Regions from separate parts of the Homo sapiens genome. Here regions 2 and 3 are each linked to region 1. Evidence: promoter capture Hi-C in 16 types of primary human blood cells and fetal thymus (Javierre and others, 2016). All regions are on one chromosome and are shown on one strand. Each heading gives the region's core, a stretch centred on a gene start or on the middle of the fragment in contact. The rest is flanking DNA. Distances are from core to core; before and after follow the strand shown.

Evidence for each region. Contacts are between HindIII fragments. The CHiCAGO score rates a contact against its expected background, and 5 or more counts as called.
Region 2: a contact is called between a fragment that was not itself captured here and the fragment with the promoter of WNT4 in region 1, in 1 of 17 cell types (M2 macrophages). The highest score is 6.8, in M2 macrophages.
Region 3: a fragment that was not itself captured here is called in contact with the fragment with the promoter of WNT4 in region 1 in 1 of 17 cell types (M0 macrophages); the score reaches 5.6 in M0 macrophages.

What each region holds. Positions count from the first base shown.
Region 1 is chr1:22,140,335-22,145,437 of GRCh38, forward strand. It overlaps WNT4 (Wnt family member 4), which reads right to left and starts at 2,763. Exons shown (of 5, transcript NM_030761.5): 1 at 2,512-2,763. The coding sequence starts at 2,588. It overlaps LOC105376845 (a long non-coding RNA gene), which reads left to right and starts at 619. Exons shown (of 5, transcript XR_947050.1): 1 at 619-671. RefSeq lists silencers at 2,231-2,290, 2,853-3,182. The HindIII fragment of the contact is 11,467 bases long and covers 1-5,103 here.
Region 2 is chr1:22,939,757-22,944,859 of GRCh38, forward strand. No RefSeq gene overlaps it. Among named protein-coding and RNA genes, the nearest start is that of LACTBL1, 31 kb to the right of the region's middle. The HindIII fragment of the contact is 1,964 bases long and covers 1,598-3,561 here.
Region 3 is chr1:22,886,760-22,891,862 of GRCh38, forward strand. The region is part of intron 6 of EPHB2 (EPH receptor B2); the gene reads left to right. LOC124903874 (a long non-coding RNA gene) reads right to left here and starts at 2,801. Exons shown (of 3, transcript XR_007065534.1): 1 at 2,748-2,801. RefSeq lists a silencer at 2,753-2,958. The HindIII fragment of the contact is 2,047 bases long and covers 1,664-3,710 here.

The DNA.
Region 1 (5,103 bases), core at 1,513-4,012:
ATCCCCAATCTTCTCATCTGTAACGGGATTGAAACGTTGTTGGGATTTAGATCATGCTGTGGGAGTCATCATAATAATTATTATTGTCATGATCATACAGTCTTCAGACCAAGTCCCCCTCTGTGCCTGCTCGGGCTCACACTCAGCTCTTTCCTCTGACAGCCATAGAGCATGTGCCCTGTTCCACCCAGTCGTGGTTTTATCATGTCTTTCTACCTAGACTCCAGGCTTGTGGGAGGCCAGGCTGTGACATCCATTTCCCCCAGAGCTGCCATTCCTGGCCAGCTGATTGTTCGACAGAGGTTGATAAATATTGGACCAACCTTGGTATGTGCCCAGTGTCTTCTCCTTCATAGCCTCTCTGGTTTGGGAGGGTCCTGGGAAGCCTCTTGTTCCTCTTGCCTTGGGTGGAGCAGAGAGACCCTTGGCTTGAAGCCGGGGGTGGAGCAGGAGTGAGCTGGGTCATCCAGAGACCTGCTTCGTGGCAACCTGAACCATCACCGTTGCAGAGAACAGGTTTGCCAACCTCTCTTCTCCTAGGCTGCCCCTCCTCACCCCACCCCCAACAGCACAGGCAGGAGAACTGAGTTGTTGGAATTCCCCACAGTTTGCATGATCCAAAGCCGAGGCTGCCTTCCTGGCTGGGATTCTGGGGGTGGACATGGGTGAAGGTGAGTGGTGATGCCACCGGGCCATGCTGGCTCCACTTTGGGACAGCTTCAGGGAAGGGGGTATAGGGTCACTGCCTGGGAGTCAGAACACCTGGGTTCAGTTCTCAGCTCTGAGTTTGGGCAAGTAGCTTCCACTCCCTAGGCCTCAGTTTCCTCATCTGAGTCAAAGATGAGATGTTCCTGAAGGACTTTCCACTGCAGATGTCGCTGTCTTCCATGTAGGCCTGGGCCAGACGCTTGGACTGCCACTTTTTTTTCTTTGTTTTTTGTTTGTTTGTTTGTTTTTTGTGGCTTTGGCGGTGCTGGGCAGGTGAGACACAGTTCTTGCTCCTTCTGATGCTCAGATCTGTTTTGGAGGCCCCCGCTCTGAACCCATGCATTCAAGAACCAGCTCCAGGGACACCCAGGGTCCTCCAAGTCCAAATCAGCTCCCTCCCCAGCTCTGTGACCCAGGCTCCATTCAGGGGGTGGCCTGCAGGGGGGCAGTGGGAGAAGGTGGTGGTGCCTTGCTTTCTGTACACTCTGCCACTGCTCCTGAAGTGTTAATCAAATTAAGGCTCCAAGAAAAACAAAAGCTCCGCAGCCACTTCGGGCTGCCTTGGAGTCGTTTGCTCTCGGAACAGCTGGGAGAATTCCACATCACCTCCGTCCCCCAAGCCCTGGGTGGCTCTGACCCCAACGAACACACTCCTTCCAGCCTGGAGGGCTCTGGCTGGCCACAATGACCTCATAGCAACAGCCATTGGACACTCGGGGCAATTTCATGGGAGATATTTGTTCTTTGGTCTTGATGCAGAGAGAATTTTTTCCTCTCTCCCTGTCTCCATGGAAACCCCAGCTACACTGTTGGCGATCCCCCTTCCCACCCCATGCTTTTCAGATCAATATTGGAGCTTGGCTCCCCACTGGCTGCCCACAGCGGATGGTGGCAGAGCTCTGGGCAGGAGGAACTGGGGCCAGGGTTAAGCGCGGGGCATGGGGAACTGTCCCTGAGCGGGGATGAAAGGAGCGCGGGTCCGCTTGCTCCCTGTCCACCCACTCACTGGAGCTCATCCCTTTAGTCTCCCTCCCTGCAGCAAACCTTCCGCCCCTACCCAGGGAGCGCCCTGAGCGCAGATCCAGTCAAGGAGAAACAGACAGGTCACCAGCGGTTACCACCCCTTCCTCCTTAGGCTAGACACGGGGAGCTGGGGGGCCGTTGTCTTCTTTAAGGTCTGGACGGAGTTTCTTCCTGCCCCGGGGAAAAACCAAGGCCCGGCCAGCGCCAGCGCCAGCCCCGGGCCCTGGGAGACCAGGCGTCCTGGTCCCTTCCTTCTGTCTCCGGCTCCCGCCCCCCAAGCAGAAACAGGTCCCTGCACGCCTCCAGCCCAGCCCGCAGCGCGGCGCAGCTCGGCGCAGCTCGGCGCTGGGAGCTCGCTCCGGACTTCTCGGGATTAACCTGCTATTATGTCCCGGAGCCCTTCCCTGCAATGGGCTTCCTCAGCGACCTGTCAGCCCGGCTGGACTGCAACCCGCGTCCGGCGCCCCTCCCGGGCCACCGCCCCGCGCTCGCACCCCTGGCGCCCTCGAGAGCCCCGAGCCGCCTACCGGTGCGGACGCCGCCACAGCCACCCCTGACGCCTCTGGGCAGGGAGCCGGACCCGGGCAGGAGGGGACCCCGGGTGTGCAGAGGGACGTTCGGGCCGTGGCGGCGGCAGCGGAGCGAGCGAGCCTCCGGTCCCGCGGCCGAGACACCTGCCGGGCTGCCCCGCGCCCGCTGCCCCGCGCCGCCTGGCACCGGCCGCTGCCCCCGGGGCCTGCCCCGCCCCGCCCCGCCCCGCTCGGCCCCGGCCAGACTTACAGCCAGTTGCTCGCGGCGGCTGAGAAGACGGCGAAGACGAGGAGGCGCAGCGAACGCAGGCACGAGCGGGGACTCATGGTGCCGCCGCGGGCGCCCGGCCCGGGGCAGCGGCTGCGGCCGCGGGGGGCCTCCCGTCGGGGCTGCAGGTGGGCGCCCGCGGGCGGGCCGGGGCGCGCGCGGCGGGGCTCTGCCTCCGTGTGCCTGCCGGCAGCCTGCCCGCTGCTGCGCCCGCTGCCCGGCGCGGACCAGACTGTCAGCGCCGCCCCAGAGCCGGGATGCGGCGGCGGCGGCGGCGGCGGCGGCGGCGGAGGCGGGCGGGCGGGCGGGCGGCCGGGGGGGCGGGCCGGGGGCGGGCCGAGGATGGGGTTACCTGGGCGGGCCCAGCGGCCCGGGACACCCCCCCGGGGGCGGGCCGGAGCGGCGGCGGCTGCCGCCTTAGCCCGCGGGACTGGGCTGCTCCCGGGGCCTCCCCGGCTGGGCGCTCCGGAGGACTTGGGGCCCGAGCCCGCTCCAGGCACGCCTGGCTGCGCGCCGCCGAGCCCGGCCCGGCTAGAGGCGCGGCGACCCAGCTGCCCGGCCGCCGCCCGGGCCTAGGGGACAGGCGGGCACAGCTCCCCCAACCCGCCGCTGCGGGCACTGCAGCGCGGCCCTCGCTGTCCCCCTACCCCCCCCACCGCCCCCCGCCGGCGCCTGGAGCCCAGACCCCGGTCCGACCGCGGCGGACCCACCGGAGCGCGGCTACCACTCGCGCGCACCCAGGCGCTGGCGCTCCGGGTGCCTGGGGCTGCACATCGGGGCGCTGGATGTCTCCCGACCGCCCCCCGCCCGGCCCCTCCCTGCCTCCTGGCCCCCGCGTCCTGCGGCCCAGCCCCTCCCTGGCGCTCACCTCCCTACAGCCTTCCGGGAGCTGGACGGGGCCTCCCCAGCTTTGGGCAGCTTGGGACAGTGGCCCGAGACTGTGGGAATCCGAAACCTCGCTTCTGGCTAGCCACAAGGTCTGGGCGCGCCCCAGGCAGCAGGGTCTTGACTCTGAGCCTCCGTTTTCTCATCCGGGAAGTGGGCTTAAGACGCTGTGATTGGGAGGACAGGAGGAGTTTAGGGAAGCTCTCTTGGCTCACTCACCAAGTCTTACTTTGCATTTGGTTTTCTATGTGCTTGTTCGATTTATCCTCCCATACTAGGCAGATTCAGCCTCTTGTTTGTTTTGGGCACAGGGCGGTGCCTGCCATGTTTGTGGAAGGAATAAATGAATGGAATGGAATGGGCTGCAACAGCCTGTGCTTGGCTAGTCCAGAGAGCTCAATTCCACATCACTGTAACCCCTAAGAATTGTCTGCCCAAGTCCACGCCACACCCTCTCAGGTCACTGATCTGATTCTGTGTGCTACTCATCCTCCAGGCTGCATCCCCCAGCTGCTCACAGGTAGAGGGACCTCTTATCTAAACAGTAAAACTAAGGCCCGGAAAGGGAGGCACCTGTCCCACCTCCCTAGGGGTTGGGAACAGAGGCAAGGACCAGGTCTATGCCCTCACCCCCTGATCTTAGTTCTTCACTGATTTTGGAGTATGAAGTTTGCTCCCACAGAGGCCATCATGTTTGGGTGCTGGGATGGTGCCCTGGGGTCCCCTGGGCTCAGAACAGAGGAAGGGCTCAGTAAACATTTGGTATTGGGACTGGGTGGAACGTGGCAGGGATTTGTGGGGCTGGGCAAGAGTATAGATGGAGGTTCACATACCATATGTCCAAATATTTGCAGGCTATAAATCAAGCTAACAAAATGCAAAATAAATTATGTTCTATTCTTCTATCTTGACAAATACACTTTCCTAACAAGGCAGAAAGCTGGCTTTGAGTGTGGCATTCTCATACTCCTCAGACCTTGCCCTGGAGCTGGTGGCACAGGGAGAGGGGGCCCCTAGTGCCTGGCCTGGGCCCCTGCCCCCTACCTTTTCCTACCTCTGCCTCTGTCCTGTCCTTCGAGAGTCTTGTGCACATTCATGAACATCTCAGCCTGCACATGCAAGCTCAGCCCCTTGGTAGCCCCTCAGGCTTAGGGCTGGGCACGCCAGTGGTGTACTCTGTCCTCGGGCTGGATCTGCGGAAGAGACCCACGCAGGTCCTGGCAGTGGGCTAAGGGCCATCTCTGCAGGGAACCCCAGGGGCCTGGGCACCCAGAGTATGCTCTAGTGGAGGTGCCACAAGTTCCAGGTGGGCATGTCCCCTTGTCCCATGGTCTTCCCTCCTTGTGATGAGAGGTTAGCTGGAGGAGGGCCAGACTGGGGGGGTCCCCAGGGCAGGGGCCACTCTCACCTGTGTTTAAGGGTGGTACTGAAGTGCTGACCTATTTTGAACCAGCATATTCACTTCCTGGAGACTCAGTATGGTATGGTGGAAAATAATAATAACAACGATAATAATTTAGATGGCAACAGGTAATTATGTTAGGATGGCCATATAATTTTCTTCCAAACCAGGATGTTTTCAAGAGTGACGGGGGGCTCTAACTGGAAGATTTGCCAGGCTACCAGGCATAGACCAAGACTGTGCCAGGCCACCTAGGATGCACTGTGCCACTCAAATGTTGTGCCCTG
Region 2 (5,103 bases), core at 1,330-3,829, 800 kb after region 1:
ACCTACAACCAACAGGATCTAATCGGCATCCAACAATCCACCCAACAATAGCAGAACACACATTGTTTTCAAGCACCAATGAAATATATACCAAGATAGACCACACCCTGAGCCACAAAACAAACCTCAACAAACTAAAAAAACAACTGAAATCATACAAAATGTGTTCTCTGACCACAGTGGAATCAAACTAGAAATCAACAGTATAGAGATAACATGAAAATCTCTGAACCCTTTGAAACAAAGCTATACACTTATAAATAATTCATGTGGTCAAAGAATAGATCTCAAAAGAAATTTAACAATATATTTACTTTAATGAGAATAAGAATACTCCATATTAACACATGTGGGGCATAGCTAAAGCAGTGGTAAGAGGGAAATTGATAGCAATAAATGCTTACATCAGAAAAGAGGAAGCAGTCCTCCCACCTTAGACTTCCTAATAGCTGGGACCACAGGTGTGCATCACCACACCCAGCTAAATTTTTTTTTAATTTTCTAGACACAGGGTCTCACTATGTGGCCTAGGCTGGTCTCAAACTCCTGGGCCTTGGCCTGTCAAAGTGCTGGGATTACAGACATATGCCATTGTGTCTGGCCTAATTCTTGATATATTATCCTGCTCCACACTCATAAATGCAAAGGCTCAGTGCAGTTTACATCAGTGCTGTTCATGACTCAATTTCGGTTGGGTACCTCATAACTGTTCCAGCTTTCTCTTGTCGTGTAATAAAGAACTTCAATATTTACTGGCCTAAAACAAACAGTAATTGCATTATCAAATCAATAATCTAAGTTCCCATGTCAAGAATCCAGAAAAAAAAATCTAGGAAAAAAGGAACACAATAAACTCAAAGCAAGCAGAAGATTGAAATAATAAAATAACAGCATAACATTAAAAACAGAAAAGCAAGAAAGAAAACCAATGAAACAAAAAACTGGTTTGCTTCACTGTTTCAAAATTGACAAACTTCTAGAAAGACTAACAGGAAAAAAGAGAGAAGATATAAATTATCAATATGAAGAATGAAACGGGATGTCACTTTAGGCCCTGCAGATATCAAAAAAATAATAAGAGAACACTATGTATAACTCTACAGACATAAATTCAACAATTTTGATGAAATAGACCAATTCTGGGAAAAGCCAAAACTACCACAACTTGCTCATATTGAATAGCCCCATAACCATTTAGGAAATTGAATTAACAATGTTTTTTAATTACCAAAAAAGAAAATCTCCAGAGCCAGGTAGTTTCACTGGAGAATACTACCAAGTGTTTAGAGAAGAATTAATACCATCTACACAATCTCTTCCAGAAAATAGAAGAGGCAGAAACACTTCCCAATTCATTTTATGAAGCTAATATTATCCTGATACCAAAACCAAACAAAGATAATATACAAAAAAAGAAAGAAAACTACAGACCAATATTCCTCATGAGTATAGATGCAAAAATTCTTAACAAAATATTAGCAAATAGAAGTCAGCAACATATCAAAACAATTATATACCATTGAACAGACCCAATTTTCTCAGAACTGATGTTTACAAGTGTTTTTAATAAGATAGAAATTGACCCTTCCAGTCTTGAAGCTTGAGAAACTTACATTTTTCTTATCTGAGTTCCTTTCACAGGAAATTGGCTATCAGGGAGCTGAAACTTTCCACATCACTGCATCTGGACGGTGAGGTGCCAGACCCCTTATCTGACTCCCTGATGCCTGTTGACCAACTCCTATATAAACCCCTAACTTTAGTTGGTTGGGGAGAGAGATTTGAGACTTGTCTCTCATCTCCTGGCTGACATCACCCACAATAAAGCCTTTCTTCCTTGGCAATACTCGTTGTCTCAGTGATTGGCTTTCTGTGGGTGAGAACTGGACCTAGGTCAAACCCCTGGCATTCAGCAACAAAATTCTGGTGTCCTGACTTGGATTGCATTGCTTGTGACTTGGCAGCCACAGGCTGGGAGAGTTTTGAAAACCCTTCTAGCAGATGCCCAGCCATATTTGGCCAGAGGTTTCAGTCTCTCTCTCTTTGGCCCCAACTGCAGTCCTGATTGCCTAGGAAGAATATTCTTTGAAATTTGACATCTGCATCTGGACAGGTGAGTGTCCTTTGTGGGTACTAGACAGTAGGAGCTGCTCCTGTCAAATTGGGAAATTCTGAAGAATTTCCATTTGTTGCAGGTTAAACAAGCCCAACCCACTAATGTGAGAGTGGAAAGCACTCTATTTCAGTTCAGACACTTTGGGGGCTTGTTAATCACTACTGCAGTTAGATTGATTTTTGTTCTGTTTTGGTTTGAGACTGAGTTTCAGTCTGTCACCCAGGCTTGAGTGCAGTGGCGTGATCTTGGCTCACTGCAACCTCCACCTCCTGGGTTCAAGTGATTCTCCTGCCTCAGCCTCTCAAGTAGTTTGGACCACAGGCATGCACCACCATACCCAGCTAATTTTTGTATTTTTAATAGAGACAGGGTTTCGCCATGTTGGCCAGACTGGTCTCGAACTCCTGACCTCAAGTAATCCACCTGCCTTGGCCTCCCAAAGTGCTGAGATTATAGGCATGAGCCACCACACCCGGCCTAGATTGTATTTTGATAAGTGTTTGTGTGTGTGTGTGTGTGTGTGTGTGTGTGCGCGCACGTGCGCATGTGTGTACGTGTGTGTCTATTTCCTGCACCTTCTTTAAACTTTTGGTTTGAGGGACTCCCTTCCTGAGCCCCACCAGAAAACAGTCCAGAACCCCTGTTGATCAGCTTCCAGCTGGGGTCATGGAGGGGCACTGCCAGACTGTAACCAGTCCTCACCCCATTATTAGGATCTTCTGTGTGTAACCGATCAGCCTTTTCCTGAGCCTTTTCTAGCACTGTATGACACTCTTCAGATGTCAGCAAGACTTTAAGGAGGCTCTGAACATCAGCCCATGTAGGGCCATGAGTCATGAAAATAGACTCAAAGAGGTTAGTTATACATTTCAGGTCATCCCTATAAGCAGGTTTGGTCTGCTTACAATTATGTAAGTTTGCATCATTCCAGCGGGCTGTCCTTCTTCAGCTAAACCCCCAACAGGGACCTGTCTCAGAGGGAACTGCCCTGTAGAGAAGGGTAGCAGAACCCAGCCAAATTGTGTCCCCTGATGGGTCCAAGAGGATGAGACCATTTCTCTGGAGTTCCCAGATGTCTCCTTGGTGAAAGGAGAGAGCAAAGGAAAATATGGGGGAAGACCTGGCAGAACTCAGGTACGGGTCCTGGGTCCATAAGTGAGAGGGCTAGCAGGAGTCAGGAAAGGGTTTTGCAGGGTTTGGAAGTCTCAGGGGTTGGGGCCATCAAAGAGGCTGAAGCTGACCCCAAGGCAGCTGGTGGAGAGTGCTGAGATGGCTGGGCTGGGGTTATAGAAGTTGTAGTAGGCTCTAAGGAGAATTCTTCTTTGCTGGTGACATGGGGATCATAGGGAAAAGTGCAGACTCACCACCCTTCTTAAAAGCCTCCATCCATTGCATCAGAATTTTACATTTAACTTGATTGGTTTGTTCTGATAAAGGAGTATAAAAGCTTAGACATCAGGGATTTCATCCTACTTTCCCATTTGATAGCAAAATGAAACTAGTTGTAAGATATAATTTATCAATTTTGAATAATTTACTCAAGCAGGCTGCATTCTGGGGTTGAATTTTGTTTTATTATTATTTTTTGGGGGGAGGTCAAATTTTGATTTCCCATGACTATATCTAGACAAGAAGTGGATGAGAACCCATTAGCATTTTGGAAAGAATTTTGGAGGCTTATCAGAAATATACAGATGTAGGCCGGGCACAGAGGCTCACACCTGTAATCCCAGCACTTAGGGAGGTCAAGGCAGGTGGATTGCTTGAGGTCAGGAGTTCGAGACAAACCTGGCCAGCATGGTGAAACCCCGTCTCTACTAAAAATACAAAAAATTAGCTGGGCATGGTGGTGCACGCCTGCAGTCCTAGCTACTCAGGAGGCTGTGGCAGGAGAATCTCTTGAACCCAGAAGGCAGAGGTTGCAGTGAGCCGAGATCGCACCACTGCACTCCAGCCTGGGTGACAGAACGAGACTCTGTCTCAAAAAAAAAAAAAAAGAAAAAGAAAAAGAAAAGAAAGAAAGAAAAGAAAACAAATATACAGATGTAGATCCGACAGTCCTAAGAATTCCATGTTAATTAATGTGAACTATTTTGTAATACGCAGATGATATCTTGATAGCCAGTGAAATGGAGGGTAACTCCATCCTCCATGCCATCAAAGTCTTAAATTTCCTGGCAGATAAAGGGTACAAGGTTTCTAAGAAAGAGGCATAGATCTCTCATCCCACCATTCAGTACCTGGGATTCAAGGGACTCACAATCTTCTCCCAGATCACAGAGGCAATAAATCAGGTGGCAGTCTCCAGTATCCTTAAACAACTACGTGGTCCTTTAGGGATGCCTGGATTTTGTCAAATTTAGATCCCTAACTTCAGGTTAATAGCCAAACCTCTCTAGGAGACTTTAAAAGAAGAAGAAAGGGAACCCCTTTCTTGGAGTAGAGAATGCCAAAATGCCTTTCTAACCATTAAAGAGAAATTGATGACAGCCCCTGCCCTGAGTCTCCCTGACCTACACCAACCTTTTGATTTATTTGTTCAAGAAAAACAGGGAATTGGACTTGGAGAATTAACTCAAGACCTTGGGACCTTAAAATGTCCCATGGCCTACTTTATAAAACAGCTTGACAAGGTAACTAAGGGCTGGCCTACCTGCCTAAGGGCAGTGGCTGCCACCTGTGATATATTGCAGGAAGCTGAGAAGTTCACCTTTCAGCAGCCCATGAAGGTACATACTATGCATTATGTGTTTCCCCTGCCCAAGCAGAAGGGGGCTATTGTGGACTGCCAGGGCTGGAAAAGCACCAAACCATGCTTCTAGATAAACCAAATATAACTCTTAAAGTTATTTCTACTCCTAATCCTGCCACCCGGCTACCAAGGAACCTCCAGCCTCCTGTTGAGGATTGCATTCAAATAATTGATCAAGTTTACTCCAGCAGACTGGGCCCCACAGATTTGCCATTAACAGAACCCAACCAAGAAT
Region 3 (5,103 bases), core at 1,437-3,936, 750 kb after region 1:
GGAATTACAGGCATGCACCACCATGCCCGGCTAATTTTGTATTTTAAGTAGAGACGGGGTTTCTCCATGTTGATCAGGCTGGTCTCAAACTTCTGACCTCAGGTGATCCGCCCACCTCAGCCACCCAAAGTGCTGGGATTACAGGGGTGAGCCACCGCGCCCGGCCAGCAAAGTCTATATTTTAAAGCCCGGAGGACCCAGGAAATGTGAAGGGTGACTCCTAGGAGATGGAGGTGCCTTTTCCTGGGGCAGATGCAGGTTTGTGATTTGTAGGTGTGGTGCTTACTGGGGCAAAGGGGTTGGGGTTCAGGGAGGATAGAGAACAGCAGCCAGGAGAGTGTGCAGAGGAAGAACCAGAAGATAGGATCCTGGAGAATGCCAGGGTTTAAGGAGGGGAAGAAAGCGGAGTTGATGAAAATATTAGAGGAGGTGCTGGCAGAGGGGTAGGAGCAGAACCAAGAGTCATGTCTCTCCCTGACCTCTCAGACAAGTCTGTGATATGCCAGCCACCACCACCAGGAAGGGACAGCTAGGCTGCAGGTGGTAGGATTTATTCCAGCAAGTCCACAGCCGGCTGTTACCTAACACAGGAATCCTCCTTGTGTCTGCTATTAGATTCTTTCCTGAATGCTCCAGTCTTCCTAGGAAGGGAAGTCAGATACTGAGCCCTGCAGGCCTGTGTGGCCCCCACCTCCACCTCTTTCCCACTCCTTTCCTTCTTCAGAAAGGGCTCTCTAGGAGCGGGCCCTCCGTTTGGCCTTCCCCAAGCCCCACTGGGATTTCCCAGCCTGCCTGGAGTCCAGAGCTGACAACTGCGTTGCTAGATGGCTTCTGGAGGCCACTGATGAATGGCGGTGGCCTTGTGCAGACCCAGGCCTGGCTGCTTCCGTCAGTTCCAACGCCCCAGGGGAGGTGGCCTCCTTTGGCAGCTACCCCAAAGCACACAGGTTCAGGATCCCACTGGTCCCCCAAGAACTCAAGGAGAAGAGCCATTCATGAGGCCACCTGTGGTCGATGGCCCCTGGTAGCCCACATCAATTTTAGAATTTATTTAACAGAAAATGAAGAGGAAGGACATTCCAGGCAGAAGGAGCAAAGGTTGGAGGATGGGGGGTGAAACTATGAAAGTTCAGGCCATATTCAGCTTGTTGCCCAGTACCTGGAGTAGGATCTACCTGGAGAGGTTTGTCCACTCATTCATTCACTTTTGCATTCATCCATCCATTTAATGAACATGGGAAAGGGCTTACTCTATAATGGTTTTTTTGTTTGTTTGTTTTTTGGGGGTTTTTTTTGTGTGTGTGACAACAGAGTTTTGCTCTTGTTGCCCAGGCTGGAGTGTCATGACGCAAGCTCACTGCAACCTCCGTCTCCCGGGTTCAAGTGATTCTCCAGCCTCAGTCTCCCAAGTAGCTGGGATTACAGGCATGTGCCACCACGCTCGGCTAATTTTTTGTATTTTTAGTAGAGATGGGGTTTCACCATGTTGGTCAGGCTGTTCTCGAACTCCTGACCTCAGGTGATCCAGCCCTCGGCCTCACAAAGTGCTGGGATTACAGGCATGAGCCACTGCGCCTGGCCTCTATAATGGTTTTGATGATAACAGTGATGGTGGGAGCCAACATTTATTAAGTCTTTTTATGTGCTAGAGACTGTGCTAAAAAGCTTTACCTGTATTTTCCTTTTAAATCTCCAAAACCACCTTTTATGGTACCTACTTGCATTAACCCACTTTAGAGATGAGAAAACTGAGGCCTGGAAGGCTTAAGACATGCACCCAATGCCTCACTGGCCCTAAGCTACCAGGTAAGTGCTCAGACTAAGGACTAGTGGATTTCATACTGAATCTCTTCCCATCGTCCCTTGGTGCTTAATCACTGTTCAGATAAAGGTACCCCAGGGAGAGGAGAGACCGAAGGGAATTGGCGTCTCTCGGGCATCTCCAATGTGCCAGGCACTACCTGATCAAATTTTATCTTCACAACAGCCCTGAGAGCTTGGCATTTATTGTTCCATTTATTTGGAATAGAAAACAGGGGCTCAGGGAAGTGAAGGGTCTTTCCCAAGGTCACAGTGCAATCAAGTGAAAAAACAAGGATATGAAGCAGCTTCCAGCTGGGTACAGTGACTCATGTCTGTAATCCCAGCACTTTGGGAAGCTGAGACGGGTGGATCATTTGAGTCCAGGAGCTCCAGACCAGCCTGGGTAACATGATGAAACCCTGTCTCTACCAAAAATACAAAAATTAGCCGGGTGTGATGGTATGTGCCTGTAGTCCTAGCTACTAGGGAGGCTGAGGTGGGAGGATCGCTTGTGTCTGGGAGGTCGAGGCTGCAATGGGCCATAATCGCGCCACTGCACTCCAGCCTGGGTCACAGAGCAACACCCTGTCTCAAAAATATAGTCAGACAGAGAGAGACAAAAATGAAAAATGAAACAGCTTCCAATCCCTTGCCCAGCTTTAATGAAGGGAGCTGCTCAGGTTGGTTCCTCACTCTCATGAGGCACCTATGGAACCAGCAGCCGCCTCTCATCTCCCTCACATAATCAGGGGCTTAAAACCTCCAACATCTCTAAGTGGGCACCCACCCAGTTTACAGAATCTAACCTGTTTTCAAGTCTGAGCAGAGCCCATGTTGTACAGTGGCACTTAGTGTCCATGTCTGGTACTGCATCCCAGGTTTTGTAGATTTTTGAATACCAGTTTAATGTTCATTCATTATGTCAATAATTAGTGAACACTTACTGTGTGGCAAACCTGGGGGGATCCAGAGATGAGCAAGACATGGTCCCTGGCCTCAGGAAATCCACATCCTTAAAGAAGATGGACAGGTATATTAGGACAATAGGTGGGAGGGGAGACAATTTGGACCCACAACCCCTGGCTGGGACATCTGGGAAGTCTCCCCAGCAGAGGTGGCACTTGCGCTGAGTCTTGAACGATGAGTAGGACACTGCAAGACAAGTGAGGAAAGGGTATTTCAGACAGGGGCAACAGTGCTTGCAAAAACTCAAGAGTGTCCATGGAAGGTAGAGTTGCTAGATAAAATAGAAGACACATGATTACATTTGAATTTTTTAAAAATAAATGTTTTAGTACAAATATGTCCCAAATATTGCACGGGGCGTACTTATACCAAAATGTATTTGTTGTTCATCTGAAATTTAAATTTGACTGAGCAGCATCCTATATTTGTGTTTGCTAAATCTGGCAGCTCTACCAAGGAAGGGGGAAAGAGTTAGGGATGGCAGGAACCTAGGAAACATTAGGGATGTTGCAGGAGAGACTGCAAAATGGTGGGTCATGAAGGGTCTGGAATGCCAGGCTAAGGAGTCGGCCTTCACCCTGTGGGCACTGGAGAAGGACTTTGTGTGAGGGACCCCAAACTTGGTACAGGGGAACAAACACAAGCCCTCCCTCATGGGCTTAGAGTTAAGGGGGCGAGAGGAGCCTCAGCTGGAAGTTGAGGGGGCATAGCAGAAACCCCCTCCTGTGGCACCCACAGCAAGTGCTCTGGGACTGAGAAGGAAGAGGTGCATCTGGCTGGGATGTCAAGGAGGCTTCCTGGAGGAGGAGGCAGATGATCTGGCTTGGCAAAAGAGACTTCCTCTCTGCTGCTGCCCCACCCAGCTATCCCTGCCTCCCCCTGTTATGGGGGTGGTAGAGACACATCTTCAAGTCAGCCCCCTTCATATCCCCTACATCCCAAGCTTTTTCTCCTCTCCTTTCCTCTGAACCTGCTGCCCCTTCTGCCAGGCATGCACATCTTTGTCTGGGTGGTTCCTGTTTGTTCTTTGAGATCCCATTCCAGTGACCCCCACTCACGAGGGAGCTTTCCTGACTTCACCTGGTAGCCCCTGATATGGTTTGGCTGTGTCCCCGCCCAAATCTCATCTTGAATTGAAGTTCCCATAATCCCCACCTGTTGTGAGAGGGACCTAGTAGGAGGTAATTGAATCACGGGGGTGGTTACCCCCATGCTTTTCTCATGATAGTGAGTGAGTTTGCACAAGATCTGATGGTTTTATAAGGGGCTTTTCCCCCTTTGCTCGGCACTTCTCTCTCCTGCCACCATGTGAAGAAGTATGTGTTTGCTTCTTCTTCTGCCATGGTTGTAAGTTTCCTGAGGCCTCCCCAGGCATGAGGAACTGTGGGTCAATTTCACTTCTTTCCTTTATAAATTACCTAGTCTTGGGTATGTGTGTATAGCAGCATGAGAAGGGACTAATGCAGCCCCCGTCCCAGACCAGGTCACATGTCCCTCGGTATGTGCTTACCCTATCAGTGTGAGCCTGTTATACCTATTGATTCATTTTATTATCTGAACAAACTCTGAGGTAGCTACTGTTACTATCCCCCTTTTACAGATGAAGACACAGAGAAGTTAAGGAACTTGCCCAAGGTCACAGAGGTCATATATACTAGAGCCAGGATTTGAACCCAAGAAGTCTGGCTCCAGCTTGTGATCTTAACCTCCATGCTATAAAGCCTGTAATAACATTGCACGCACTGAATCTTCATTGTTTTGGGAAGGTTTTCAAGGGCTCCGTGCACTCTGTGATGTGTGTGTGACTGGCATGTACAACTAGGTGTGTGTTTTTCTGGATAAGCATTCACAGATTTTCGTCAGAAAAAAATTGTCTCAGGAGCTTCATGATCTTCAAAGGGTTGGGATCCTCACATGCTTACTTTTCTGGACTGAGCTCTCCAAGGCCAGGGCCTGTGCCTTAGCTCCCTGTAGAACCCCAGTCCCAGCCTAGTGCAAAGAGGATATTTGGGGAAGTTTTGCCGGGCGGCTGACAGATGCCTAAACGAGCATCATCTGTATCTGATCCAACCACATCTCCACTCCCACTGCAGCAGCTGGATCTTTGTCCTGTCCTAGATTCCTTGGATCGCCCTGGGTAACATTCAGGAAGCCAAAATTGGTGTTCTTCATCTCTCAAAGGAGAAGACACTAGGTTTGGGGTACCCAAAGGCATGGACATTAGATAGAGGTGGCTCCATGCAAGAGTCTGGTTTCTTTTTTTTTTGTTGTTGTTGTATTTTTTTAGATAGGGTTTTGCTCTGTTGCCCAGGCTACAGTGCAGTGGCATAATCA